Linked DNA regions of Homo sapiens: regions 1, 2, 3, 4, 5 and 6 are each linked to region 7. Evidence: promoter capture Hi-C in 16 types of primary human blood cells and fetal thymus (Javierre and others, 2016). All regions are on one chromosome and are shown on one strand. The core of a region is centred on a gene start or on the middle of the fragment in contact, and the rest is flanking DNA. Distances in the headings are between cores, read along the strand shown. Region 1 overlaps WDR35 (WD repeat domain 35). Region 2 overlaps WDR35 (WD repeat domain 35). Region 3 holds the start of LOC124907740 (a long non-coding RNA gene). Region 4 has its middle 3.1 kb from the start of TTC32. Region 5 overlaps WDR35 (WD repeat domain 35). Region 6 overlaps LDAH (lipid droplet associated hydrolase). Region 7 holds the start of SDC1 (syndecan 1).

What was found. Contacts are between HindIII fragments. The CHiCAGO score rates a contact against its expected background, and 5 or more counts as called.
Region 1: a fragment that was not itself captured here is called in contact with the fragment with the promoter of SDC1 in region 7 in 6 of 17 cell types (M0 macrophages, M1 macrophages, M2 macrophages and 3 more); the score reaches 13.7 in M0 macrophages.
Region 2: a contact is called between a fragment that was not itself captured here and the fragment with the promoter of SDC1 in region 7, in 8 of 17 cell types (M2 macrophages, M1 macrophages, M0 macrophages and 5 more). The highest score is 16.3, in M2 macrophages.
Region 3: a contact is called between a fragment that was not itself captured here and the fragment with the promoter of SDC1 in region 7, in 3 of 17 cell types (neutrophils, non-activated CD4 T cells and erythroblasts). The highest score is 9.5, in neutrophils.
Region 4: a fragment that was not itself captured here is called in contact with the fragment with the promoter of SDC1 in region 7 in 1 of 17 cell types (M0 macrophages); the score reaches 5.2 in M0 macrophages.
Region 5: a fragment that was not itself captured here is called in contact with the fragment with the promoter of SDC1 in region 7 in 2 of 17 cell types (M2 macrophages and M1 macrophages); the score reaches 8.2 in M2 macrophages.
Region 6: a fragment that was not itself captured here is called in contact with the fragment with the promoter of SDC1 in region 7 in 1 of 17 cell types (neutrophils); the score reaches 5.2 in neutrophils.

The regions. Positions count from the first base shown.
Region 1 is chr2:19,944,408-19,948,315 of GRCh38, forward strand. It overlaps WDR35 (WD repeat domain 35), which reads right to left. Exons shown (of 27, transcript NM_020779.4): 14 at 3,757-3,810; 15 at 2,054-2,163; 16 at 1,379-1,589. Among named protein-coding and RNA genes, the nearest start is that of WDR35, 44 kb to the right of the region's middle. The HindIII fragment of the contact is 1,628 bases long and covers 1,845-3,472 here.
Region 2 is chr2:19,961,196-19,965,340 of GRCh38, forward strand. All of the region lies in intron 10 of WDR35 (WD repeat domain 35), which reads right to left. Among named protein-coding and RNA genes, the nearest start is that of WDR35, 27 kb to the right of the region's middle. The HindIII fragment of the contact is 832 bases long and covers 1,638-2,469 here.
Region 3 is chr2:20,634,651-20,638,964 of GRCh38, forward strand. HS1BP3 (HCLS1 binding protein 3) reads right to left here. Exons shown (of 7, transcript NM_022460.4): 4 at 3,786-4,002. LOC124907740 (a long non-coding RNA gene) reads right to left here and starts at 3,779. Exons shown (of 2, transcript XR_007086243.1): 1 at 1,583-3,779; 2 at 66-352. RefSeq lists an enhancer at 1,094-1,143. The HindIII fragment of the contact is 1,769 bases long and covers 553-2,321 here.
Region 4 is chr2:19,903,060-19,907,160 of GRCh38, forward strand. No RefSeq gene overlaps it. Among named protein-coding and RNA genes, the nearest start is that of TTC32, 3.1 kb to the left of the region's middle. The HindIII fragment of the contact is 2,822 bases long and covers 50-2,871 here.
Region 5 is chr2:19,928,509-19,932,484 of GRCh38, forward strand. It overlaps WDR35 (WD repeat domain 35), which reads right to left. Exons shown (of 27, transcript NM_020779.4): 23 at 3,775-3,939; 24 at 2,761-2,901; 25 at 1,888-2,044. Among named protein-coding and RNA genes, the nearest start is that of TTC32, 29 kb to the left of the region's middle. The HindIII fragment of the contact is 3,370 bases long and covers 642-3,976 here.
Region 6 is chr2:20,685,653-20,689,469 of GRCh38, forward strand. LDAH (lipid droplet associated hydrolase) reads right to left here. Exons shown (of 7, transcript NM_021925.4): 7 at 1-1,442. The coding sequence ends at 1,251. Among named protein-coding and RNA genes, the nearest start is that of GDF7, 20 kb to the left of the region's middle. The HindIII fragment of the contact is 2,355 bases long and covers 289-2,643 here.
Region 7 is chr2:20,223,007-20,227,191 of GRCh38, forward strand. It overlaps SDC1 (syndecan 1), which reads right to left and starts at 2,124. Exons shown (of 5, transcript NM_002997.5): 1 at 1,796-2,124. The coding sequence starts at 1,861. RefSeq lists enhancers at 1-332, 2,092-2,771, 2,772-3,451 and silencers at 491-690, 1,101-1,560, 1,581-1,640, 1,681-2,100, 2,161-2,540. The HindIII fragment of the contact is 9,225 bases long and covers 1-4,185 here.

The DNA of each region.
Region 1 (3,908 bases), core at 1,409-3,908, 280 kb before region 7:
GAGCAGCCAGATACAACAAACATTCTCCCTTCTCCAGGCATATGATTTGTGATTTAGTATGAGCAGGGCTAAGGATAGAAAAAGACTCTAACATTCAAAAAGTATTCTACTCCCATCCTCAAGGTTATCCTGTGGATTACCTGTCAAATTCCCACAATTGTTTTGTGGCAAGGATTAAATTTCCCTTGGACCCTTGAAAGAAGCCCATGCTTACAGGTCAAATGCAGCAGCCCTGAATCTGAATGCCTTTCCTTTGAACTATTTCTCAGGGTCGAAGAATCACAAAGATCCTAAGACTTGCAAAAGCTTTAACAGAGCCTTTGAGAGCACTTTACATCAGGGCATTTTACATCCAAAATTCCTGAGTAGGGCTCAAATGGGGAAATGTGAAAATAATTTAGGATATTAAAGGGGCAAACAGTTTACCACTAAATAAATTACTCCAGAAACCCTTTGGCAGCTCAGGGGCCCAAGCATGCAATTTCTTCCCAAGAAGGAAGCTATACATGCAAACAAATGGAAATTAATGATATAAAGCATTTATTAACTTATTCCTTATTATTTACAAGAGTAGAGTGCAGCAGAAGTACAGAAAATTCCAAATTGAAAATCCATTACTAATTCAAAAGTCATTTAAAAGATTTATCTTCTTAATGATGTTTTGATTAGGTTACCACTCGGATTATTTTGTATTTCCTAAATACAACAGCTGAGAGTTGGCCAGAGTAGACTAAGTGACAGGAAAATCCAGAGCATAGAAATTAGCTGATGTGAGCCACAAGCAGAAAATCAAAATGTAACCTTAAAAATGAGAACAAAGGGGACTTCCTCATACCCAAAAGAGAGATTAATCCCTGCCTGCACTTGCATATTTGTAAGAATATCTGGGTTAAGAAAGAACACAGATTTGTGAACGATATGGTAAATGTAAATATAAATAAGACAAAGTAAGCACAGAATTAAGTGAATAAAGAGACAGAAAAGAATGAATGGACAAGGAAATTTGAAAACTATATTTTTTTATTAGGTTCTTTTCAGAAATTCTGGTAAATAAGGCTACTGATTTTGTTTTCTTAAGTTTGACAAGGGAAAAAAAGACTAGTGACCATGGCTCCACCTTTTAAAAAGAACAGATAAATAAATGCCTAGGAAGTACCTTTCAGAGAAAGTAGAGAATATTTAATAGATAAGTATTTTCTCACCTAAGACCAAATATTTTTAAAATCCACAGAAATGTTCCTATTTATTTTCAGAAATTCATGCAGCCGTGTTGGCACTGCTATTCAACAAACTTCTTAAAGAAACAAAGGGGAATCATCCAGGTTTTTATATTTGGCTCATTATTTATAGACTGTTAACACTCATTTCTTGTTTTTACCTCAGGATCCAAGTTTCTGAAAACATACATTCTTGTCTTCTCCATCATTGCAAACAAATCAGGATTATCTTTGGCCCACTTCATATCCCAGACATCTCTTCGTTCCAATTTTAACAACTCTCCAACTACTTGCTGTCCCGTACTGTCCGTTACTCGAGCATCCAAGTCAAAGAAAGTCAGAACTCCTGAGATGTCTATGATAGCAAGACGGCTAAAAACAATGCAATTAGAGAAAAGGAAAAAACTATAAAATTACTATCAGCAATCATGAGAATAATTACCTATAGCCATTCTTCTTCAAAATCAGATTATCAGAAACCTGGAATACAGTAGAAATGGCTTAAAATTTTGTTAAATAAATTTGATACAAGATATGGACTACTCTCTATTTTGCTCTCTTCTGAGGAAAATGTATCCAGAGACAAAACCAATTGGTATGAAATATAAAATAGTCTCAATGCTTTTAAGCTTTAAGAGTAAAAAATTATACTAGTACTTCCACACGCCCAATTAAAAACATTTAAACCAAATGCAGTATAAAATAAAACCATACTGAATTTTAAGACAAGTTCATAATAGACACGCCCATCTTTACATTTATTACATATAAATCTAACAATCCCAACTGATCATTTCTAAGTCTAACATCTACATGAGCAGAGTTTTCAGGCTTACCTAGAGTTGCAATTCAAGGATAACTGGTAGGCTCGACAATTAAGGGAATATTTTTGAATCAAACCAACATTAGGTAGACTGTATCTCTGAATGGTGCCAGATTCACGACCCTATGGAAATTACTTTTGATTACTTAAGCATACGTGTATCATAATAATATTAAACTACAACTATTTCTCTATATGTCTATACATTTGTCTTAAAACCAAAGTGATGTCACAGCAAATTCTCAATTCTGATAATGAATCATGTCCTTAAGTACATATTTACCTACTAATTTAATTAAACCTTTTTCAAACAGCTGAAGTATTCTAATTTTTTTTCATGTAATATTCAAGAAAGAAGTCAGAAACCTAGCACTTTGGCAATACACAAATTCTTACATCACAAGGAAAAAAAATCTAAAGTTATTTATATTTGTTATCTAGGTTAATATTCAGGGCACATTAAAAGCTAAAGCAAAGTACTTGTTGAGTTAAATTACATATGTATATGAAAAATCAACAGAAGATCATATGATATAGCTGTTACTGAAGGTCTAGGTTTTTATCCTATAGTCATCTATCTGATACTAGTTTTTAGCAAAAGGAAAGATGATCTGAATGCAGGGATACTATGAATATTAGTTTAAATAAGTTTAAAAAATAAAGCAGCATATAATTTTGTACACAACTCAGGGCAAATCTTAAGGTTGACATATCAACAGTAAGTATAATGCCATGAGAGAACTGTGGGTTTCAAACCCTTGGCTGCCTCAGGCCATGGCAGTGGGACAAAGTGGAAGCCTCCACACAGCTGATCTTTAACTCTCTTCTTTTTAATCAGAGAACCACTGCTTTTGCAGCATGAGTCTCATGAGGGCTTATCAGAAAGGAGGGAATACTATAGAAATACTATGCTCTTAAGATTTTTCCCCCCATAAAATTAGCTCATGGCTGAGGAATGTAACTAGAACTAGAATATATACTATTAAGGTTTTGTTTACATAATTCAAATGCAATAACCCCAGCAGCATTACTGTATAAAAGTAAACATTAATTTCTAAAATTAATATTTTCAAATCTCAGAGCTCAAGAAAAGACACTATGCCATTGATTCTATTTGAAAAATTCAGCTGAAATTTGCCATAGGCTTCTCTATTTTACTGGCTGGCAAACATGTTACCTCGTCATTCTAAGTCTTATGAAAGTGGCTGAGCCAAAGCACTTTCTCCAACATAAAATATCGGGCTACACAAAGGAGGAAACTTTCTAATACCTACTACCACCATGCAATCTGCCCCACCACCATGCAATCTTCCACAGGGCTCATTCCACTCAGTGTTAGAAACTGTAAGTGTACTCTGTCTTCTCGGCTGGTCATCCCTGTACTGCTTTCATAAATAGCTGTTTTTGCAAATGGTTAATTATTAGCGAGGAAAGCTTTAAAACTTTCTTATTTCTCATACTGAACTTATATTAAGGGTACAGTAAAACTTGGGGTGCCCATAAGATGATATTCAAAACTTTACTGTAATTTTTTTTTTTAGAGACAAGGTTTCACTATGTTCTCAGTCTGGTCTCCATTTCCTGGCCTCAAGCAATCCTCCTGCTTCAGCTTCCCAAGTAACTGTGATTACAGACATGGGGCACACACCTGGCTCCTACCATATTTTTATAATTTAAAGAATTATTATTCATAAAATAAGTTTTTGCAAAACTTACCACAATCAATATCTTATCTGATGCAGTTATGGCACAAATTGGATCCCTTGTGCCCTAAAATAAATTAATCAATCATTACTATTCAACAAACATTTATTGAATAACTAACCTGGTACAACGTAGTATGCAATTCACTAAGCAGTCAATATTTC
Region 2 (4,145 bases), core at 804-3,303, 260 kb before region 7:
TGCCCTAAAGAAATCAGCAGTCTACAAAAGGACAACTCACTTTAAGAAGGGACAAGACAAAGTAAAGATGAAACCTGCAACAGCAGACCATCCATGTCAATTTGCAAGGAAAAAATGAATCTCATCTTGTTTCTGCCCTAATTGAAGAGGACTAACAATTAACAGCAGAAACAATAGTCAACACTATAGACATCTCAACTGGCTCAGCTCACACAATTCTGACTGAAAAATTTGAGTTAAGCCAACTTTCCACTCAATGGGTGCCAAATCCGTTGCACCCAGATCAGCTGCACACAGGAGCAGAGCAGTAAATGGAAATTTCAAACAGGTGGTATCAAGAACCTGAGGCATTTCTTCAAAAATTGCAAAAGGAGATGAAACATGGCTTTGCCTGTATGATCCTGAATGCAAAGCACAATCAAAGCAATGGTTACCAAGTGGTGGAAGTGGTCCAGTCAAAGCAAAAGCAGACCGCCAAGAGCAAAGGTCATGGCGACAGTTTTGGGGGATGCTCAAGGCATTTTGCTTGTTGACTTTCTGAAGGGCCAAAGGACAATAATGTCCACTTACTATGAGAATGTCTTGAGAAAGTCAGCCAAAGCTTTAGCAGAAAAATGCCTGGGAAAACTTCACCAGAGTCTCTCCCCACCATGACAATGCTCCTGCTCATTCTATTCATCAAACAAGGGCAATTTTGCTAGAGTTTTGGCGGGAAATCATTAGGCATCCATCCACTTTACAGTCCTGATTTGGCTCCAGACTTCCTTTTGTTTCCTAATCTTAAAAAATCCTTAAAGGGTACCCATTTATCTTTAGTTAATAATGTAAAAAAGACTGCATTGACATGGTTAAATTCCCAGGACCCTCAGTTCTTTAGGGATGGACTAAATATCTGTTATCATTGCTTACAAAAATGTCTTGACCTTGATGGAGCTTATGTTGAAAAATAAAGTTTCTATTTTTATTTTTATCTGTTAATTCCATTTTTCCATGAACCTTCTGAAGTCCCCTCATATTGCTACAGTTTCTGATCAGCTATAACCTCAAAACTCATTTTTATCCTATGATCAGCTATATAAGAGCTAATTTCATTTGTTACCGTTGCACCAAATGTCTCCATCTCGTTCTCCTCCTTTGAAGCAATATATAAATGACAGGAGAAATTCAGAAAAATTCAGTTAACTCAAAAAAGACATGACTCAACCTAATGAAAGTGGCTTATATACAAATAATCATCAATGACCAATATTAGGAAAATAATCAAACGTAATGCACATTTTACATCACATTGTTTTAAAGTGATCATTTCATTTTTCTTACTGTTAGTCTCTGTTTCTGTATCTTGTACTAAGAATACTATTCTACTTAGATGTTTTTCCTGACTAGAACAACAATTTCAAATAAAGCAGTTCTTTATGTGCTATTTACACAGACTTTTTCTTTTTTCAGCATTCGATTAAAATTTGTTTAATTACTCAAAACATCTCAGGTACCCCATAGATAACATACGTCTACTATTACCCATAACATTTAAAAAAAAATAAAAAGAACTCATTGAATTAATTTCATAAATATAAACCAAATAATAAAAATCATATTTTAAAAAATCATAATTTACTCTTCCACTACTTAAAATAAGCTTATTTACTGCCACAAAATACCACAAATTGTATTTTTAATATATTTTTCATTTTTATCAGTTATACATGCTAGTAGTTCCAAAAATCAAATAGATCCACAAGGCTTCTTACTAAAAAATGGCAGTTCCCCCTAAGTTCCCATTTCCTGCTCCCTTTACCGATCCTTTTGCTATTACCTCCACAAATCTAAGTAACGTGTTTATACTGCTACTTGTTTTATTTCAATTTAGTCCATTAGCTCTTGCCTCCCCACTACAAATGACAAGTCTTTAGCTTTCTTTCATTCCCTTTTCCACCCCACCCCTACCACACAGGGGCACCTTTCCATCCCTCTCTCTATTTTTAATACCATTTTGTCGGATCAGAATTTAGGGTTCAGTATGTTTATTATACTTCAATTAAAAGGTGTTTTAAGTTTAAAAAGGGTGATTACATCATTTTGACTATGTAAATGCTATTCACAACTCAGCCATCAAGTGTATCATGATTTATTTTCTTTTCAAGCACATTCTGCTTTCTCTGTAGTCGATAATTGTATTTTTTCTCTTTGATTAGTCTTCTATGGGCTTATTACTAACACAAATCCCCAATTATCCCTGAATTATGTATATCTTGCTGCAAGGGCTCAAATATGTCAGGTAGTCTATTGTTATCCCCTTAAATTTCTCTTGGAGCCTTCTGACCTCTCATCTGACTCACTGGACACACTGCACCATGGTCAGCTGGTACTTTCTTCCTCACTGGTGTCCACTCTACTGTTTCTTCTGCTTTCTTGGTTTATTCCTCATTTTGTTAGACTATTTCCTAAAGTAACTTCCTAAGATAGGGAAGCTTGGAAGGGAAATTTTTAGTGAGTTACACATCTAAAAATGTCTGTATTCCACCCATTTATTTATTTATTTATTTATTTATTTATTTACTTACTTTGAGACAGAGTCTCACTCTGTCGCCCAGGCTGGAGTGCAGTGGCACATCTCGGCTCACTGCAGCCTCTGCCTTCAGGGTTCAAGCGATTCTCCTGCCTCAGCTTCCCAAGTAGCTGGGATTACAGGCACCCGCCACCACACCTGGCTAATTTTTGTATATTTAGTAGAGATAGGGTTTTGCCATGTTGGCCAGGCTGGTCCCAAACTCCTAACCTCAGGTGATCTGCCCACCTTGGCCTCCCAAAGTGCTGGGCTACCCTCATATTTAATTAGTAGTTGACTTACAGCTATGGAATTCTAGTTGGAAAACTATCCCTGCAAATTTTGAGGCAATTCTCCAAACCATTGCTGTTGACAAATAGAATGCCACTTATGATCCTTGACGTTATGAAATCTGTTTTTCCTCCCTGAAAGCTTGTAAGATTGTTTTCTCCCCAATGTTCTGAAATTCTACAATGATGTGTCTCAATGTGGAAATGTTTTTATTCACTGAGCTAGGCACTTCCAATCCAGAACGTCAAGGAAAATTTTCTTGAATTTTTTTTTCATACTTACTGCCCTGTATTTTGTATATTTTGCCTGTTCACTCTTTTTTTTTCTTTTTTCTTTCTTTTCTTTTCTTTTTTTTTTTTTTTCTTTGGAGACAGAGTCTTACTCTGTCTCCCAGGCTGGAGTGCAGTGGCGTGATCTCGGCCCACCGCAACCTCCGCGTCCTGGGTTCAAGCAATTCTCCTGCCTCAGCCTCCTGAGTAGCTGGGACTACAGGCACACGCTGCCACGCCCGGCTAATTTTTTCTATTTTAGTAGAGACAGGGTTTCACCGTGTTGCCCAGGCCGGTCTCGAACTCCTGAGCTCAGGTAATCTGCCCACCTCGGCCTCCCAAAGTGGCCTGTTCACTCTTTTTAGAAATATTATTGAAATGCTAAGCTTCCCGGACTGGTCCTCTAATTTTATCTTTTCACCCCTATTTTCCATTTCCTTGTCCTTTTGCTTCACTTTACAAGTGTTTTCCTTCATTTTACCTTCTAATCCTCCAGCCAAAGTTTTCATTATGGTTATCCTATTTTTAATTTCCAAAAACTTCCTCTTCTATAGTATCCTTTTCTTATTTTATGGATGTAATATCTCTTAACTCTCTGAAGGTAATATTAATGGTTCTTTCAAAATAATTTTTTTTTTTTGAGACAGAGTCTCACTTTCGCCCAGGTTGGAGTGCAATGGCACGATCCTGGCTCACTGCAACCTCTGCCTCCCGGGTTCAAGCGACTGTCCTGCCTCAGCCTCCCGAGTAGCTGGGTTTACAGGCTTGCGCCACCATGCCCAGCTAATTTTGTATATTTAGTAGAGACAGGGTTTCACCATGTTAGCCAGGCCGATCTCGAACTCCCGACCTCAGGTAATCCGCCCGCCTTGGTCTCTCAAAGTGCTGGGATTACAGGTGTGAGCCATCGCACCCAGCCCCAAAATAATGTTTTTCAGACGTGTCCTTCCTGCACAGTCTCTGCTTCTTCCAAGTTCTTTTCCACTTGTGTTTAGATGGCTTTCTCAAATGTCTGGCAATCCTTGTCTAACTGCTTA
Region 3 (4,314 bases), core at 187-2,686, 410 kb after region 7:
AATCTGGGAGCACCTGGCAATGTGCCAGGAGCATTCAAAACCACAGAATCATTCCAGAGAAGTGATTTCATCCAAATATAGAGTAAGATATTATTTTTATACTAAAATACATGTGGTTGTTTTATGAAAGATGAAGCAAAATCCATATTAAAAAACAACCATAAAACGTGGCATTCCAGAGAAACATCCAGCTTCACCACGGAGGCCACAGCACGGGGACCCGGGTGTGGGCTCCCCCTTCCAGGGAGTCTGGGAAGACCAGCTTTGCAGGCAGGTGCATTTGTTCATACAGGAGCCAGCCTGTCCCAAGGACGCTGTGAGTCCTCAGGGACCCAGGGCCTGGAGGGGGTCCCTGTGTGCAAAAGAAGAGGTGGGAGGAGTGGGCCCTGAGGGCGGGGGTGGGCAGGGCTTAGAAAAGCAGAGGGGCCTCCCAACAGAGGGGCTTCAGCCCTTAGAGAACCTTTTACTGGAATGGTACCCCAAAGCCCCCAGAAGCAGCTTCAGGGACCTTGCTCTGGGGCACGTATATAGGGGAAGGCTCCATAGAATAAAAGCTTTGTATATGTAGAAGTTCCTCAGGTTATTGCCTGTAATAGCAAAAACCTACAGAAAACCCCGCCACGCCCACAAGCAAGGGCCTGGTAATGCCACTTACAGCCCATCGAGCTGAGAAACCAGCAGAGGAAGGAGGGAGAGTGCAGCTATTGATCTGGAAGGACCTAGAACATGTAAGCTGGAAAAAAGCAAATTCCAGAACGGCACACAAGACAATCTCATTTTGGCAGTAAGATGTGAATATTCAAAGGTGCATTCAGAAATTCACAGGGAAAGGACTTTTATCTGTGTTTGCAATTTTTCTATACTAATTGTGTGTTATTTGAGTCACAATGAAAAAGGTTTCCCGCAGAGGATTTCCAGCATAAGGCAGAACTATTAGGGTAGAATGTCAATTTTCTCAGCACCGTGACATTCTAAAATAGAAACTTAAATACAAAACAGGGGCGACATGGAGCAGCAATCGGGACAGACCATAGGGTGGAAAAGCAGAGTACGAAAAGGCACGTGCATTGTGCCTGCGGTTGCATGGATGCTGCTGGGACGGGGTCAGAAGAGAGCCCCAGCAGATGGAGAGAGCGGTGGTGTTGGGATGGGCCGAGGTGAGGGCTTTTTCTATCTTTAATTGCTCTCTAATGGTGTAATAACGCTCTCTTGTCCCTAATCAAAACCAGGTTTAAAAGACAAAGAAAAGCCAGGCCGGCCTGGGCTCCGGCTTTGTGCTGGCGACTCCCACCCTCCCAGCAGCCCTGCCGTGGAGCAGCCCTTCAGCAGAGCAGCAGCGCCTCGCCGCGGCCACGGCGGGGAAGGACCGAGGCTGGTTGCATGGAAATGGTGGCCGCTCCAGGAGAGCCCAGAGCTAAGCCCAGACATGGGGCAGGGCAAGCTGGGAAACGGGTGCCGCTGCATCTGCACAGGAACCAAGCGCACGGGAGGGAGAGGGGTGCACAAACAGCCTCCCGAGAAGAACAGAAAGTCCCCCACCAAAGGGCAGGTGGGTGGCACCAAGAGAGATCAACAAGCCCACCTGGGTGTCTGTGAAAGGCCGAGGTGGAAACCCAACTTCAAGGTACGGCTCTGCCACACACACAGCTCTGGAACACACACGGCTCTGGCCAAGATCCTGCTCAACTCCTTCCTCGATTTTACCATCTGTGAAAGGGGGATAATCCTGGGGCCCTGCCCACCTCCCAGGCTGATAAAGACTGGACTGGAGATGGCGTGGGGTCCTGGCTCTGCCATCTGCAGGCTGCAGGAACGTGGACGAACCACCTGACCCTGAACTTGAGTTTCCCACCACACAGAAGAGGCTGATGCCAGTGCAGGCCTCCAGGGCTCCGTTTCTTGACCTGTGCCCACAGTGGATCCTGAAAGCAGTTTGGCGAGTCATGACCTTTCCAAACGTTGAAATAGAATAGAAAATATCCCAGTACAATACACTTAGTAAGGTTTTGTATGAGTTCTGGGAACTTTTGCTTCAGTTTTATGGGATGTTTATACATGTGTGTCCTGGGTCATGGCGTACCATATAGTTTTTACTATGGGTTGTAGCAAGTAGTTTCAGAAATGCTGTCTTACAGATATAATGAGATCATGCAAGCAAATGCTAACTTAGTTCCCAGCATTTCATAAACTCTCAAAAAATTTACTTATTATTCCTGACAGAGGTGATAACGTTGATTCATCAGCACCTTGTCACACGGGTCCTTAAAAAGAAACCCCAGCAGGGGAGGGTCTTAAGCCGGCAGGATTACTCTTAGGTGCTAAGCTTTCCCAGGATTCAGGGGTGAGGGCCCCAGAGTACAGAGCTGGGGAGGGGGCTGCCCCCGCCCCCCCCGCCCCGCCAAGGGGTCCCAGGATAGCTGACACATCTCCCCTGACAATCTGCTAATGAAGTAAGTAGGAAGTTCAAGGCAGCACTTGCCAGCCACAAAGAACATTTTCCTACCCAAAAAAGGAGCCGCTCGGCTAAGTGTGTTCTTCAGCCAAAGGTTGGCACAGACCACCAAAGTCCATCTCGGTTTGGCACTACGTGTGGTTACTCAGAACAACAGAGAATGTGAGTTCAAACAAAGCCTCACCCTTACCAAAATAAAGCCCAAGAAAGGCCTGCCGCGTTGGGCCAGGCTGATAAGGAGTGACTATTACAGGCTTGTCCCCATATCACCCACTACTCTGGCTGCCTCTCCCTCAGGGCCGCTGACCCCACTCAGGGACAAGGCCAGCCACGGAGGGCCAGGAGGAGCGACTGCAGGGCACTTGCTGTGCCCAGGTGCCGCAGGACCCCAGATCTCAGGCCTGTTTCTGCTGCAGCTCCCTGAGCGCCGCGTACCCTTTCCCAGTGCAAATCCTCACCCCTGGACGCTGGTCTCATGGCCACCCTGCAGCCCACCCTCCCATAACCCTCCCCACGAAGAAGGCCTTTCCAGAGTGGGCTGTGATTTTAGGAGAGAATTCTACATGCTGATGAAGTTGAACTTGCTTCTGCCTAATTTCTACTGGGCTCTAATTCCTTTCTGCGGCAGGACCTACACTCATCTGGCGCCCGAGGGCTTTGGTAAACGGCTAAGAGACATTCGTTGTGGTAGAGAGCGGGGAGGACAGCACCCCTGGCCTGGTCTGATTCCACTGAAAGATGGGGCCATGATGGTAGCTGATTGCTAAATTTACATAACTCAGTTCATCGTCACAGGAGCCCTAAGAGGTTGATACGACCATGAGTCCATTTTCACTGAGGAAAACCGAAGAAAAGAGATTGTAAATGGCCAGAGATGTATGGCTGGTGAATGGCCCTGTGTGGAGGCAGGGCCAAGGTGAATGCTCCTGCTATGCAGATGATGCAGCCCAGAGAGCCGCAGCCACCTCTGCGAGTCCCACAGCTGGAAGGAGCACCCAGTCCTCCCACACTAGCCGGACAGGCCCGCAGCCTGCACTACTGAGCTGTCACGGAGGACTCTACCAAGCCCCAGTGCGGAGCCACAAGTGGAGGACATCCTGTGACCCGAGAAGGGAGGCGACACCTAAGCCCAGTCCCAGAGACATGCACACCACCAAGGGCACGCAGAGAGCTACTTCCCCCAACACACCAGGCCAAGGCCTCGTGGCCCAGATCCCTGCGAGGGGGCGACCTGGGATGCTCAGGGCTTTTCTCAGATTCCAGGGAAGGGGGACGTCATCTCCAGAAAGCCTGGAATACACCAAAGGGGCCCTCTCAACAACAGGAGACCAACCGCATAATGCCCAGAGGGTCCAGCGCCTCCTCCTCCTCCAAGGATTCCTCAGCATCCTCGCCCTTCAGGCTCTGGACGGGCGGACCCTCTTCTGCCACTTGGTCTTGCTCCTCAAAAAAGTCGAAAGCCTCTTCATCATTCCCTGTCTGACTGTCTGTGCCATCCAGGACAGAGGAATCTCTGCTGGTGAGCCCTGCAGCCCCTGGGGATCTGGTACCTGTGGAGGAAGACAGAAAAGAATGGACTTGGTAACCACCCCAGAGCCAGGGGAGGCATCTTGCCACACTGCACCCTCCCATGCCAGGATCTGAGGCCGAGGGCTTCCTGCAGCCTCCTGGGACCAAACTCGTCCCTCCTGGGACCTAAGCAGGATGGCGAGTCTGGGTGGATGGAAGGTGACCTCCGTTTCGGGGGCAGCCAAGTGCCTGCTGCAGCCCCCCAAGGGCTGACGGGCACCAAGGAAGCCTGGAGTGGAGTGGTCACAAGTGGGAGCTTCAGAGCAAGACAGGGGCAGCGGTTCCTGAACCCA
Region 4 (4,101 bases), core at 211-2,710, 320 kb before region 7:
CATAATATTCATTCCAGGTGAATTAAAAGATTAAATAAATAAGATAAAAAGCTTTTTTTTTTCAGTTCCCATTTATTTTTGCCTCTTGGAGCAATGTCATCTTTTCAATATGAAAAAAACAAAACAAAAAACAAATCTGAAGTACAGGATAGAACAAAACCAAGTGTGTTGGGGGAAGCAACAGCAAAGGGAAGACAAGATGTTGCAAAAAAAAAAATGGAGGGGGGATTCCCCTCTCCTCTGGGGAATGACTCAAACACTGATGTGGCAGCGTACACTATTCTACATAAAGCCAGGGATGTTAATCCTTTTGGGGGATAAGAAAAAGTGGAGATGGCCAGGCTCTGTGGCTCATGCCTGTAATCCCAGCACTTTGGGAGGCCTAGGCGGGCAGATCACCTGAGGACAGGAGTTTGATAACAGCCTGGCCAACATGGCAAAACCCCGTCTCTACTAAAAATGCAAAAAATTAGCTGGGCGTGGTGGCGGGTGCCTGTAATCCCAGCTACTCATGAGGCTGAGGCACAAGAATCCCTTCTGGGTGGAAGTGGTTGGCAGTGAGCTAATTTTTGTATTTTTTGTGGTGATGGGTTTCCCCATGTTGTCCAGGCTGATCTCCAACTCCTGGGTTCAAGACATCTGCCCACCTCAGCCTCCCAAAGTGCTAGGACTACAGGCATGAGCCACCGCACCTGACTAGAAGTTTTGCTTTGTTCTGTTCAAGGAATAACAGGAATATTTATGTGTCTAAAAACCAGTGATCTAAGAGGAAAATAGCAGGATATGTAATGGAAATTGGGGATTTGGGAAGGGGGTTTCTAAATAGGAGTAAGATTCTTAACCTTTTTTGTGCTATGGCACCTTTACAAGTGTGGTGAAGCCTATGTCGTTTCAATGTTTTCAAGTGTTTTTAAAACATAGGATTACAAAGGAAAGGAATTATATTAAAAAACAGTTGGAATATTAACAGATTTATTAAAAAGTAAAACATTTATTAACATTAAATATCAAGAACAAATGGCAAACACAAAACTAGCAGAGGAAGAAAATAATAAAAGATCAAAACACAGATAAAACAAAAATGGAATCAACAAAACCAAAAGTTGGTTCTTAAAAAGATTAAAAAAGTTAATAAAACTTGAGCTAAATTGACTACGAAAAAGGAAAAGACTCAGATTACTAAAATCAGAAATGAAAATGGGAACATTACCATCAATTCTACAGAAATAAAGAGGATTATAAGAGAGTACTATGAACAATTGTATGCTGAAAAATGGGAGTAACTACATGAAATGAGCAAATGCCTAGAAACAAAAAACCTACGAAGATTGTATCATGAAGAAATAGAAAATATGAATAGACGTGTGTATTAGTCTGTTCTCACACTGCTAATAAAGACGTACCCAAGACTGGGTAATTTTTTTGTTTTTAAGAAAAAAGAGGTTTAATGGACTCACAGTTCCACGTGGATGGGGAGGCCTTATAATCATGGCAGAAGGCAAACAGCACGTCTTACATGGCAGCAGGCAAGAGAGAATGAGAGAACAGTGAAGGGGGAAATCCCTTATAAAACCATAAGATTTTGTGAGACTTAGTCACTACCATGAGAACAGTATGGGGGAAACTGCCCCCATGATTCAGTTTTTTCTCCCACCGGCTCCCTCCCACAACATGTGGGAATTATGGGAGCTACAATTCAAGATGAGATTTGGGTGAGGACACACACAAACCATATCAACCTGTAACTTGTAAGGAGATTCAATCAGTAATCTAAAAATAACCTCTTGACAAAGAAAAGCCCTGGACCTGATGGCTTCACTGATGAATTCTACTAAATGTTTAAGGAAGAACCAACACCAGTCCTTCTTAAGATTCCATTTAAAAAATGGTTATAACTAATGAATTCAGCAAGGTAGGAGGATATGAAATCAACATGCAAAAATCAGTTGCATTTTTATTCACTAACAATGAAGCTATCCAAAAATGAAATTAAGAAAACAATTCCAGCCAGGCACAGTGGCTCACACCTGTAATCCCAACATTTTTGGAGGCCAAGGTGGATGGATCACTTGAGGTCAGGAGTTCGAGACCAGCCTGGCCAACATGGCAAAACCCTGTATCTACGAAAAATACAAAATTTAGCCAGGTGTGGTGGCAGGCACCTGTAATCCCAGTTACTCAGGGGGTGAGGCAGGAGACTCACTTGAACCTGGGAAGTGGAGGTTGCAGGGAGCCAAGATTGTGCCTTGCACCACTGCACTCCAGCCTGGGCAACAGAGCAAGACTCTGTCTCAAAAAAAAAAAAAAGAAAGAAAAGAAAACAATTCCATCTACAGTAACATCAAAAAGAAAAAAATATTTAGGAATTAATCAAGAAAGTAAAAGATGTGTACAATTAAAACTATAAAACATTGCTAAAAGAAATTGAAGAAGACATAAATGGAAAGACATCTCATGTACATGGATTAGAAGACTTAATATTGTTTAGATGTTAATATTATATAAATCAATCTTCAGATTCTATGGAATCCTTATCAAAATCCCAATGATGTTTCTGCAGAAATAGAAAACTCCATCCTCAAATTCATATGGAATTACAAGGACTCCCAAATAGCCAAAACAATTTTGGAAAAAGAACAAAGTTTAAGGACTCACTTCCTGATTTCAAAACTTACTGCAAAGCTGCATTACCCAAAACAAGTGTGTTATTGGCATAAAGACAGTTTTTTAAACAAATGGTGCTAGGAAAATTGGATATCCACTACAAAAGAATGAAGCTGGTCTCTTACACCATATACAAAAATTAAAATAGATCATGACCTAAATATAAGAACTAAAATTACAAACTCTTAGGAAAAAACATATGGCAAAAGCTTAACAACACTGAATTTGGCAATGATTTTGTGAATATGACATCAATGGCACAGGCAACAAAAGAAAAAACTACACAAATTGGGCTTGACAAGAATTTAAAAACCTTTGTGCATGAAAAGACACTATCAGAGTAAAAAACAGAATATTTACAAGTCATGTATCTGATAAGGGATTAATACCCACACTATATAAAGAACTTCCAAAAACAACAATAAAGCAAAACAATCCAATGCAGAAATGGGCAAAGGATTTGAATAGACTTTTCTCTAAAGAAGATACACATATGGCCAATGAGAACATGAAAAAATGCTCAACGTCACTAATAATTAGGGAAATGCAAATTGAAACTACAATCAAATACCACTTCTCACCACTCCAGTAGGATGGAAACTATTAAGAAGAAATAAGTGTTGGTGAGGATGTGAAGAAACTGGAATCTTTATGCACTATTGGTGAGAATGTAAAATGGTGCAACCACATGGTGTGACAATTCTTCAAATACTAAGAATAACCATTTGATTCAGCAATTCCACTTCTAAGTATATACCCAAAATATCTGACAGCATGGTCTTAAAGAGATATTTACACATCCAGGTTCATAGCGGTATTGTTCACACTAGGTAAAATGTGGAAGCAATCCAAGTGTCTATCAACAGATGAGTGGATAAGCGAAATATGGTATACTCATACAATGGAATATTATTCAGTCTTAAAAAGAACAAATTCTGCCACGTGCTACAACATGGATGAAACTTGAGGACATTACATGAAGTGAATTAAGCCAGCCACAAAAAGACTGAATGATTCTATTTTTATGAGGTACCCAGAGTAGTCAAATTCATAGAGACAGAAAGTAGAATGTGGTTGCCAGGGACAGCTTTAAGGGGGATAGGGAGTTATTGTTCAATGAGCATACAGTTTCAGTTTTGCAAGATAAAGAATTCTGAAGATGGATGGTGGTGGTGGTGGTGGTGGTGGTGGTGGTGGTGGTGGTGGTGGTGGTGGAATATGAACAATATGAATGTACTTAATAAATATAGTTAATGCCACTTTAACTGTACACTTAAAAATGATTAAGATAGGCAAGGTGCAGGATCTCATGCCTGTAATGCCAGCACTTTGGGAAGCTGAGGTGGGAGGATTACTGTGCTAAGGAGTTTGAGGCTGCAGTGAGCTATGATTGTGCCACTGCACTCCAGCCTGGGTGACAGAGCTAGACCACGTCTT
Region 5 (3,976 bases), core at 1,077-3,576, 290 kb before region 7:
GCACATTAAGGTAGAATTTCAAATCTGTTAAGAAAGAATAAACCTAATATATGGTTTCAGGATAACTTAGATGTTATAATAAACATAATATTTAACAAACTTGAAGGAATTCCTAAGCATGATTCCTAAGAGAAAAATATGAAGTAAAAGACTGACAGACATGACTATATAAAAAAAACTATTAATATCATCATCACAGCTACCACTTATTGAGGGCTCACAATGTCCAGGCAGCATAATAAGTGAGTTTTCTTTTCATGAACTTCTCAATCATTACAATAACTCTATGAGGAAGATACTATTTTTTTTTTTTTTTGAGACGGAGTCTCGCTCTGTCACCCAGGCTGGAGTGCAGCGGTGCGATCTCGGCTCACTGCAAGCTCCGCCTCCCAGGTTCACACCATTCTCCTGCTTCAGCCTCCCAAGTAGCTGGGACTACAGGCACCTGCCACTACACCCAGCTGATTTTTTTGTATTTTTAGTAAAGACAGGGTTTCACCGTGTTAGCCGGGATGCTCTCGATCTCCTGACCTTGTGATCCACCCGCCTCAGCCTCCCAAAGTGCTGGGATTACAGGCATGAGCCACTGCACCCGGCTGAGGAAGATACTATTATCCTTTCTTTACACAAAGAGAAACTGAAGCTTAGAAAGGATCAAGTAACTATAACTTATAAATGCTAGGGAAAATCAATATATATGAAAGACGATTATTACATATGGTCTCTAAAGAGCTCTTATAAAAATAATTAAAAATAAAAATCATCACTATAGAATTCCAGAAATATTCAAATAAAAGAATTTCTCTAAAAGTTTTCTTTTAATATCATGCCATTGGAATACAGATTCATGATGTATTAGGATTAGAGTGTGATGTGCATATGGTGATGATGTGAGCAGCAAATGGATGATGTCACCAATATGACAGAGGAAGGGTGGGGTGTCATGACAGTGCTTGCCATGGCCAAGCTGAAAGACCAGTAATGATTTAGTCATTCATATGCTTTGGCTTACAACATAATTATCATAATTACACTCTCTGGAGTTCATATATCTAAATTCTAGAATATTGTTATTGTTAAGAAGAAATTGAGATCCTGATATTACATGTAAATAATCTTCTATCAATTACAGTATACAAATACCATGGAATATTAGGTAGAATGTTTATATAGATCTCTGTTTAAGAATGAGGAAAGAACTATAATATACTGCTGAGGGAAAAAACCATGCTCCTGCATGTAGAAACATCTAAAAGGAAGTTTACCCAAACCTTAGCAATGATTACCTCTGAGTTATAGGATTATTTTACAAATTGTTAGATTATTTTACTTTTTCTTCATATTTTTCTGTTTTGGTTGAAATTATTAGCTAAGTATCACTTTTATAAAACACAAGATAAATGCTATAGCAATGTATATGTAAAATATGGAAATATTTTAAAACGTGGTTTTCAAAAAGTACATAAAAGTATGCCATGTTATACTCCCGATATTGTAAAGAATAAAATTATCTGAATGTATGTATTAAATATATTTTATGTATTTAAATATATGTATTAAATATATTTAATAGATATATGTATATATATTTTTCTCCAAAAAATATGAACTTGGCTATGAAGTATTTAACTTTGAATGGCTAGCCATATGAATGCTATACACATTCTTTTTGCTTATCTCAAATTTCTGACATTTCTGTGAACTATGTGTTTTCTCTGTATTAAAAAAAACTTCAAAAATGGGAATGCATAAGACTCAAACATAGGAAAATAAATCCATAGGAAAAAATGTTATTGAAGGCCACATAAAGGCAAATTGAAGAAGCTAGCCCTTCATACTCAATTTATAATTTTCAGACATACTATACACATTAGGTGACATGCCCACCTGTCTTCAGTGCAGTGTCCACACATCCCTCATAGAGCTGCCTCTGTGCAAGTATAAAGAAGTGGTAAGCCTCTGCCCCTCTCCATGCATTATCTGTGAAACGATCTGTTGTAGACAGAACTTCTTCTTCCAGCAAACCAGCCAAGGCAGAAGTGGCCTACGAGTAAAGTCAGCCCACACTTTCCGTCAGCACAAACGCACACACAGTGTCAACTCCCAAATAACAACAGTCATTAAAGTATCTAAATGAGCAGATTTTATCATTACAAAACTATGATTACAGACTTTTTTTTTTAAGAGATGAGGTATTACTCTGTCACCCAAGCTGGAATGCAGCTGCGTGGTCATAGCTCACTGCAGTCTCAAACTCATGGACTCAAGTGATCCTCCCACCTAAGCCTCCCTAGTCACTGAGATCACTGGTGTGAGCACTGCACCCAAAACAGATTTAATTTTTTATTATAATTCATAGTTTGTTAAACTGGTATGAATAAATTTTAAAATATAACTAATTAGATTCTAAGTTAATCAGACATTCATTTACGCATTACAACAATATATCTAGGAAAGTTTTAAAACTCACTGATTAGAAAGGAAGATTTCCCAGGTAAGTAAAATTTTTTAACAAATAAGACATTAAAGCAAAGACTACAGATTAGTATTACAGAAAAACAATTTCAATATTTCTAGGTAGAAATTTCTGAATTTGAATACTAATTCTAAATCAGTCATTCTTTTTCTTCATATCATTTAAGGAAACAAATGCAGACATGCAAATTAAATGACCTATCCATAAAAGAAGTTTAATAGTTTCTTTTTTTTTTTTTCTTAAACACTTCCAATGATGTAATGTTATTTAACGTGCTACTTTACCTCTGAACTTTTTCCTTTAACTTTTCCTCGCTGGGCATTCTTCATCTGTTCATGGTATTGCTCTATAAGTAAGGCTGACAGTACATAGAGCTTCTTGACACGTAAAGGTTTACTTCCTTTCTTTGCCTCTTCATCTGCAATCTTAAACATTTTTCAAAATTGAGGGAAGTTACTTCTTATCTATATTTGTACAAATACAATCATTTCCAAAACTAACAAATTTGATTCCCTAAAAAAGGAGGAAAATCAGTAAGATGGAATATAAATATCACCTATTTAAGATAAATATTTTAAAACCTATCTTCTTTTCATTAGTACCTATTCGTATTTAGTTCTTTCCTTAGTATTTAGCCCTAGGAGTTGGAATTCAGATCACTCTTAGAAAATGAGAGGTGCTGTTAGATAACTAAATCAGAATAAAGAAAGTATTGATGAAATGCTGGTATTTTCCATAATACAGAGATTTTTAAAATAATGTTCCAAGTACACAAAGATATGATAGTGTTAACATGGTGCATCCTTCAGAAGCTGAAACTTATTTAAATGATTTTAAGAGATATTTTTCCTTTTTCATTAAATCAAATGGGAATAGAATAGAAGGTAAAATGTGTATACATTAATACTGTACTAATTATCTTCCCTCCAAATAAATATTATGTAAAGCGTAATATTTAAAACTTGTACATTTAAAAGAACTTAAAACTCTATTATCAACAAAATTTAATTCCCTGTTGTAGAAATTTGTACTTTGCAGTCTCAGTAATTTCTTTAACTCTTTGTTAACTCCAGTATTCAACATACAATTGTTTAGGTATTAGTAAGTTGCTAATATTAATAAACATCTTTGTTGGTAAAAGGCAATAATACTAAAATAATGTATACAGAAGCAATAAAACCAGAGTGGTTTTGCTGTAATAAATATTTGTTTCCAAAGAAAATGGAGAATATGCTCTTTCATATATTAAAATATTGTGACTGGAACAAATCAACTATTCACCAAGATTTTTACATTACCTTAAACATCAGTTTAGCTGCATCAAAAAAGTAATTGGCTTTCCGATAGAGTTCTATGGCATCAAGAGTTTTATTCTTTTCCAGTAAATGAGATGCATACCTAGCTAACAGAGATCCAATTTCTTTCATACTATGATTTTTAGCCAATTCAACAGCTTTGTTCCACTAGGAGAAAAATTACACCATTCAGTCACCCAAGTAT
Region 6 (3,817 bases), core at 216-2,715, 460 kb after region 7:
TTCCTCTAGGAGAAAAAGGAATATTTCTGATCCATGATCAACTGTCACTGCAGTATGTGGTTCTCAAGATTGAGTCAATTTAGGGGAGGCAGCAATATTGTCAGCCCACTCTAGGCCAGGGAATATGTGTCTTCTCTGCCATACCTCAATGTGTCTAGAGAAGGTGAATTCACATAACTTAATGGCTGGGTTTGGTTCATTAACAAAATAATTTCTTTCCAGCAAATGAAGTTAATGCAGAAATGGAGAGTTAATGTATGGCAATGTTTTACTGAGCAGTTTAAAAGAAGCTTTTAAAAATTATTCACTAGAAGATTTCCAGAAGAAAAGAATCATTAAGTAGCTAAGAACTCCATCCTCAATGGCTAGCACACTATTTGGCTCATTGATGGTCTTTAATGGAGTTTTAGTGCAAGAATTACAGAAGGAGCAACTGTACGTTGGCACATCCAAGCCTGCTTTGGGACAGCCCAGTGCCTCTCCATCCTGGCTCTGGAGAGGAGGAGCCTGCAGGGAGCTTATAACCTGGGAGGCTAAGGCTCAGCATAGAACTTGCTGGTTGTCCTGTGGCAGGAGGCACAGTTGGGGTCCTTCAACAATTCTTTATCTGGTTAGCTGACCAGAGTAATGTCTGGTGAACTTTATTCTCTGTCTAGTGCAGGTACATTAGACGTCACATTGATGATCTCAGCCAAGATCTGTGCTAAGTTAGCCTGGGCTCATCTTCATCTTCTGTCTTACAGGAGACCCAGGTTCACTTCCTGCTCCTGGAACATGAGTGTATCCTTGTCATAATCTCATACACTTCACATATCTAACTATACTCTTAACATTCACTGATTTATTTTACATTTTCTAGTAGGTATTTCATAATTTCCTCCAGAGGAGCCTATTCTACAATGTAACTCAATTAAAATCAAGTACATGTAGATTTTTTTTTCATCTGCAAAGATCCTGCCTACCAAAATAAACCATATGGTGCCACTGGGCATCTTGTGCAAACACAAGACTCTGTGTAGATCACTGTGTTCCCTGAGTCTTGGAAAATGTATGGTTAAACCTATGGAATGATTCATCAACTGTGTTTACTTCAGCCTATAACATGGCGAGCGGAGAGTTGGTTTGTAAGACAAAGGTTCTCACTTTCTTCATTTCTAATATCAGTCTTCAAAATTAAACATTTACCTACTAAGTCTAGTACACTGACTGCCTCCATGTACTGGCAGTGGGGGCTTGTTCCTCAGGCCAATTTACATTTTGGACAAGTCATCCTTTAGGGAGTCAGCAATCATGTCTGCCATTTCCTGGTTAAAATGGGTGATGAAAGCATGAGGTATGTTTTTCTCACAGAGTCGAATGTCTCCTTCTGGAAAATCCTTCTTAATGTCTTCATAGTACTCTTTTGGACACCAAGGATCTATAGTACCATAATAAAATGTAAGCTGAAAGACAAGACAAAAACCTTTTATTAGAAAACACGTTCCCTTCCTGACACAGATATGACACCAGCAGCCGGCAGTGCTCTGAGGACAGCACCTACGCCTGACCCTGGGAGCTAGTCCCTAAGCTCTCTCCAGAGTGTGGCTCTCTCAAGGCAGCAAGGCTTCACGATGTACAGGAGTGCACTTAGAAGAATTTGGTGGGAAGATCCCCATGCTGGGAGACTCTTGTGTGATAGATCACTCATAATTCACTGAAACGACTTACCAGGAAAGTTTTGTGTACTAAGGTTGGGATGGACACTGGAATGAAGGCCGGTGAGGATGACGAAGACAGTTATTGAGACATAGTCACTGAATGACTAGTGACCAGTTAATAAACTTAGTTGTTTCCAAATAGCCACATGGTAGTCATATGGGATGTATTTGTTGAATGAATACAAACACAGATCAGATAGACTCAGGCTTTCCAATGTAGCTGATGAAATGTGATCAGAATCCTGAGAGAGTTTATGACCTTTCTAAGAAAAGGCTCTATGCAGCCTGTATGTTGATTCAGTGGGGAAGTGCAATAATCATACTTCAATTGACAGCAAGCAGCTGAATGGAGACAGAGCCTCCTCTGTGGCATTACTAAGACCCTGAATGGATATCTACCTAAACCTGCATGTGATATATATGTATATTGCTCTAGGCTGCTGTGTTTCACTGAAAAACTGCTATGTTCTAGTTCTGTTAGTTCTAAAAATAAAGGCAACAAAGCAACATCTTATATTCAGAAGAACAGATAGTGGCAATTTCTACAAAAACCAAGAACTAAATCTTAAGGATCCTTTGACCTCTGTTATCACTGAAAGACAGAGCTATGCCTAGCTCCAGCCCCTAGTTGGCCAGCTGTAGTCACTTGCAGCTTCCCTAATATACCAAATGTGCTCCTTCATTCAGACACTGAATTGCTTACTCATTCCTTTGTTCATCAAATACAAATGGAGCACCTACTTTGTATTAGGAACCTGGAAAATAGAGATAAGACAGTCTTGGGGGGAGGGGAGAAGGGGACCCCATGTATACAAGACAATTTGAGAGCTCAGGTGAGGTGCAGCTGGTCAGAAGTAGTAGGCAGGAAAGATTCCCCAGAGTTGATGCCTCAGTTGAGTCTTCAAGCTGGGGCAGCACACTGTGGGGAGAAGACCAAGCAAACCAAAGCTTGAAAGAGCATGGCATGTGTGGGGAACTGGAATTCCACATGGCTGGAATATAGGGTGGTGGGAGATAAGACTGGAGAGGCAGAGAGGGATGAGGTCATGGACAGCATCTTCTATGCATGCCAAGGAGGTTGCGCTTTATCCCGAAGTCCACAAGGCAAAAAAGACTGCACAGTGAAGTGACATGCTGAGGTCCCTATGTCAGGAAAACCACTCTGGCCACAACGAGAAGAAGGATTGGAGGTGATCAAGTGCTGGGGGAGGAGAGTGCAGGGAAGCAGGCGTTATTGCTCACTGGATAGTTTGAGTGTATCAATTATTAAATCCATGACCTGAATATGGGACAGATGAGACTGATCTTACGAAAACAATGGCCTTCATTACAATAACATGATGCCTTAACCAATATTTAGATGGTTAGTTAAAAACACTTTATAGAGGAAAAAATTTAACATAGTACTCCAGAGAGTAAATTATGAACAAGTAAACCTCAAGTGGCAGACTTACTCTGAATTGCTTCATGGAGGTTTCCTTTTTTTTTTTTTTTTTTTTTTTTTAATTATACTTCAAATTCTGGGACATGTGCAGAGTGTGCAGGTTTGTTACATAGGTATACACGTGCCACGGTGGTTTGCTGTACCCATCAACCCGTCATCTACATTAGGTATTTCTCCTAATGCTATCCCTCCCCTACCCCCCATCCCCTAACAGGCCCCGGTGTGTGATGTTCCCCTCCCTGTGTCCATGTGTTCTCATTGTTCAACTCCCACTTATGAGTGAGAACATGCCATGTCTGGTTTTCTGTTCCTGTGTCAGTTTGCTGAGAATGATGGTTTCCAGCTTCATCCATGTCCCTGCAAAGGACATGAACTCATCCTTTTTTATGACTGCATAGTATTCCAGCTTCATGGAGGTTTTCTTGGTTGTTACCTGGGGTTCCAGTTTTGCACGCTGCAGAGGACCTGCAACTTACAGATTTATCACTTAATTCATTCTTTGCATTCTCCTACTTTTCCTCACTCCAACCATTTCTGGGCATTCCAAAGCCCCTAAAGCCAGAATTCATTTTGCCATGGTTCTTAGCAGAGTAAGAACTTCTTTTGCTTCCTAGAGAATATGAGAGCCTAGCAGTTGCCTAGTTCTTCCTCCTGGTCTCAGCTCTTTCTGTAGCTC
Region 7 (4,185 bases), core at 874-3,373:
CACAGTCTCAGTTCCACAGAAACCACCACCCTAGAGAGCAGCTTCTTGGACCTGAAAGCCAGGAGTGCATGAGACCCAGCTCGGAAATCATGGCCCTCCCCGTGCTCCCAGATACCCCTCACAGTCCAGCCCATTCACAGTTCAATAGGCACAGGGACCTCTCCTGGACCGGAAAATGTCTGGAAGCACGAGTCACCTGGGAAGCAGGGAGGGCGCTTTACACATCGGTCTCAGAAACGACTGTCCCTACCTCATCTCCCATGAGACAGACTCTGTAAAGAAAAAAAAAACCAAAGCGCTCAATAACTGGCAGCTACTACACGAGGCAACGCTTACGGAGGGTCAGCGCTGCTGAGACTTGTCCAGATGCCACATTAGCAGTGGAGAACCCGAGTGCCCACCCCGCCCCCGCCCCTTCCCTGCCCACGTGCCTCCCTTTGCCAGAGCTGGGGAAGTCGAACTGTCCAGATGTAGTGGCGAGACACCGCCACTTCCGGAAGGGGAAGCGCCCCTGGCTCCGCACCTCCCCTCTGCATCCCTGGGGATGGCCGAGCCGGCCCGCAGGAGGGACCCCGGGACGCCAGCACCGGGCGCGGGGGCTGGGGAGGCGAACTCGGGCGGCAGACTCGGGCACCGGGCGGCCCGCGCTGACACCTGGCTGCGGCCCAGGTCCCAGCCCCCGTCAAGGCCGGCGTTACGGGGCTGTTCCCAGGAAAGGGTTACAGGGGCCGAGAACAAAGCGCCCCCATTGGGGAAGGCGGGCTAGCGGCCGGTGGCCGGGGCGGGAGAGCCACTTTCTGGGGACCCTCAGGCTGCTCTTTGTCGGCCACGTCCCTCTTTAGTGGAGCGTCAGCCCCGCTGAAGGTGGATGCTGCATCCCACCCAAAGGCCTCTTACAGCCCCGAGCTCCACATCTGCCCCTCTTTTCTCCCAGCTGCACTGGGCGGGCCAAGGGACCCGCCTTCCCTCCGCGCGGCTTCAGCACAAAGCCGAGCCGGGGAGCGGGAGGCCATTCCCGGGTCCCCTCGCGTGGAAGGCGCCTGCGCCTCGGCCGTGCCCGGCACGGGAACGCGCCCTCCGGGGCCAGCTCAACTTCAGCAGCCCAGAAGTTGGGCTCCTCCGGGTCTCCAGCGTTCCGAGGCCAACTTCCCGGAACCTCCCGCTGCCGGGCCGGCTCAGCTCACCTCGAGCCGCCCACGGCAAGCCCGAGGGCCCTGCAGACGCTCGCCCGCGCCCCCCACGCAGCCCTGGCCCGGCTCCCCGGGCCAACGCGGCCGCCTCCCGCTCCCGCGCCGGCCGCGCTGCGCCCAAACTTGCCCTGGCGCAAGGGGCGGGGCGCCCGGGCTCGGCGGCGCTGGGGCGCAAGCCCGCGGGTCTGGTTTGAATTAGGGTCTGCAGGGGGGGCGTTGTGGCCGCGGTCACTGCATCCCCCCGGGTCACCGACGGGGGCCCGGCCGCCGCGGTGGCCGGGGCGAGGAGGGTGGGAACGGGCGACCCCGGGCGCCGCTGTGGGCTGGCGGGCTCCGACAGATGTGGAGACGTTTTACATAATTGAGCGCGGGGCCCCGGCCCCCCACCCTCCCCAGCGCGGGACCGGTGCGGCACCCACCGACAGCGGAGGAAATTGGGGCTGGAGCCCTGGTCTCGGGGCTCACCGTCCCGGGACCCGCTGGGCTAGCGCGGGAAGAAGGGAAGTCTTCGCTCCCCCTCCCCCTCCACGTGCACCCGCCGGCATCCGCGGGTGACCAGTCCCGGCTTCCCGCCGCCTCCCCGCCTGGCCGCCGGCCGCACTCACCGGCAGGGCCGGCTGCAGGCTCAGCGCCAGCGCGCACAGCCAGAGCCAGAGCGCCGCGCGCCTCATGCTGCCCGGACCGGCGGCGGGAGAGCGGCAGGCTGCGCGGGTCGCGGCTGCGGGCCGGCTTCGCGGGTTCCGCTGCTCGATGCTCTCTTGGGCGCCTGCCCAGCGCGCCGCTGTCCCAGGCGAGGGCTGCAGGGTCCGCCGGCTGGAGTCCGCTCTCTACTGCCGGATTCCTCTCCGCTCGGCTCGGATTCGGCCCGCACCTCTCCCGCCGAGCTCCGCCTTATAATAAACCCACAGGCCCTTCCTTAGCCGTTGCAAAAACTGGCCCCCCACCCCCAGCTCCGCCAGGTCTCCCGGCCAGCCCCAGTCCACACCCCCCAGGACCCCGCCCCCCAGCCACCCCTCCCGGCCCCTTCGGAACGCCCCACCCCCGGCCCGCTCCTAAGGTTCTTGCCTGCTTGGCTCCCGCTCCTCCGGTGGCCGAACGTCGCTTTCGGGAGCTGTGGTCCCCGCAAGCCGCGGTTCCCGGCCTTTCAGCTCGGCTGCTCCCTGGGTGGTGGGGCCGAGGCGCACCCCCTTCTGCCCGGGCCCGGAGTGCGGAGGCGCAGCCCGGGAGAGGGGCTGAAGGGGGGCAGGCAGTCCTCGGGCGCGAGTGTGCAGCGCCCTCTGGGCGTGGACGCGGAGCGCGCTCCAGGTGCGCAGGACTCCTAGCTCTCTTGGGGAACGCTTTCTGGGGCAGGGCGGGGACCCGGGGGCGATGGGGCCTTCAACCGACGGGCAAACACACACAGACACACCCCGGCTGTCCTCCAGCTGCGATGCGGCTCGCTGCGCCCCGCCGGCCCAGATTCTCCCGTACGCTCGCGTTCTTCCTGCACTCCACAAAGTGCTGGAGACTTGGGGCCTTAGTTTAAACAGCTGCACCCGCACGGAAGGGCTGCAAGAAAAAGGGGGACGGGGGCGGAGTTCGCAGCGTTTTTCTGTGGAAGACAACGCCCTCTCTCTTCATCTGAGCTAAAAGGAAAAATAAGTAACTTCTTTGTTCCCCGGTGACCTCGGGCACGCGGATCTGAGGAGCACCGTGCAGTTGCTGCTCCTTCGAGATCCCCTGCGAGGCCCTGGGCCTCAGTTCAAAAAGCTGTGGAAGGCCTGCGGGTGTAGGGGAAACGGCCGAGAGAGCAAAGGGGAAGAACCGGACGGGCCCTGCCCACATCTGGCAGGCAGGAGAGATGGTGCCAAACGACCTTCGCACCTGGGCCCTGAGACCAAAGATGGCGTCGTCCTCCCCTGTCTTCCCTAGGCGGAAGGCAAGAACTTGGGTCGGCCTGAGCTGGGGACCAAGAAAATATCGGGAAGTGTCCAGTGTTCCTCTTTAAAAGAATTAAACCTTCCTGGGCCACGCAGGGACTGACCGTGGGACCCTGGACTCTCCTCCACCTTCCACCGTGGAGCAGGCTCTGGAGCCGAGCAGCCTCCTGCGTCCCCATCTCATCCCCCCACTCCTCCTCACAGCACTAAAAGATGATGGCCTGCTTGTACCCCTGCTCCTGAGCACCTGTTTGACCTCAAAGAGCTCTCGCTTTTGGGGTGTCCGTCTCCCCAAGTCTGTCTAGGGGGCAGGAAGACCTTCATCAGGGTTCTTGGGGGCCGATGTGGGCTCGCTGAGTGCCTGAGTGATGGATGGTCTCACAGCACGGCACCACGGAGGTCCAGCCGAGCTCGAGGAGTCCCTGTGGATTAAAAATGCCCTTTTCGAAGGTTCTACCTCTACCAGAGGGTGGCTCCACAGATCCCTTCAACCCAGTATGGTGGAAAAATAGGAATTTTGGAATCTTACCTTTCTCTACTGCTCACAACAGAGGAAACTGGGGTCAGGGAGGATTTGATGGAGTCTTTTCATTTTTTAAAAGTCACTCACGGCCAAGCGCGATGGCTCACGCCTGTAACCCCAGCACTTTGGGAGGCCGAGGCGGGCAGATCACCTGAGGTCAGGAGTTCTCGACCAGCCTGGCTAACACGGTGAATCCCCATCTCTACTAAAAATACAAAAATTAGCCGGATATGGTGGCAGGTGCCTATAATCCCAGCTACTCGGGAGGCTGAGGCAGGGAGAATCGCCTCGACCTCTCGGGTTCAAACAATTCTCCCGCCTCAGCCTCCTAAATAGCTGGGATTACAGTCGCACGCCACCACAGGCCGGCTAATTTTTTATTTATTTATTTATTTTGTATTTTTAGTAGAGACAAGGTTTCACCATATTGGTCAGGCTGGTCTTGAACTCCCAACCTCAGGTGATACACCCGTCTCGGCCTCCCAAAGCGCTGGGATTACAGGCGTGAGCCACCGTGCCTGGCCCTTATACTTGTCTTCTTGAGTGCATGTGT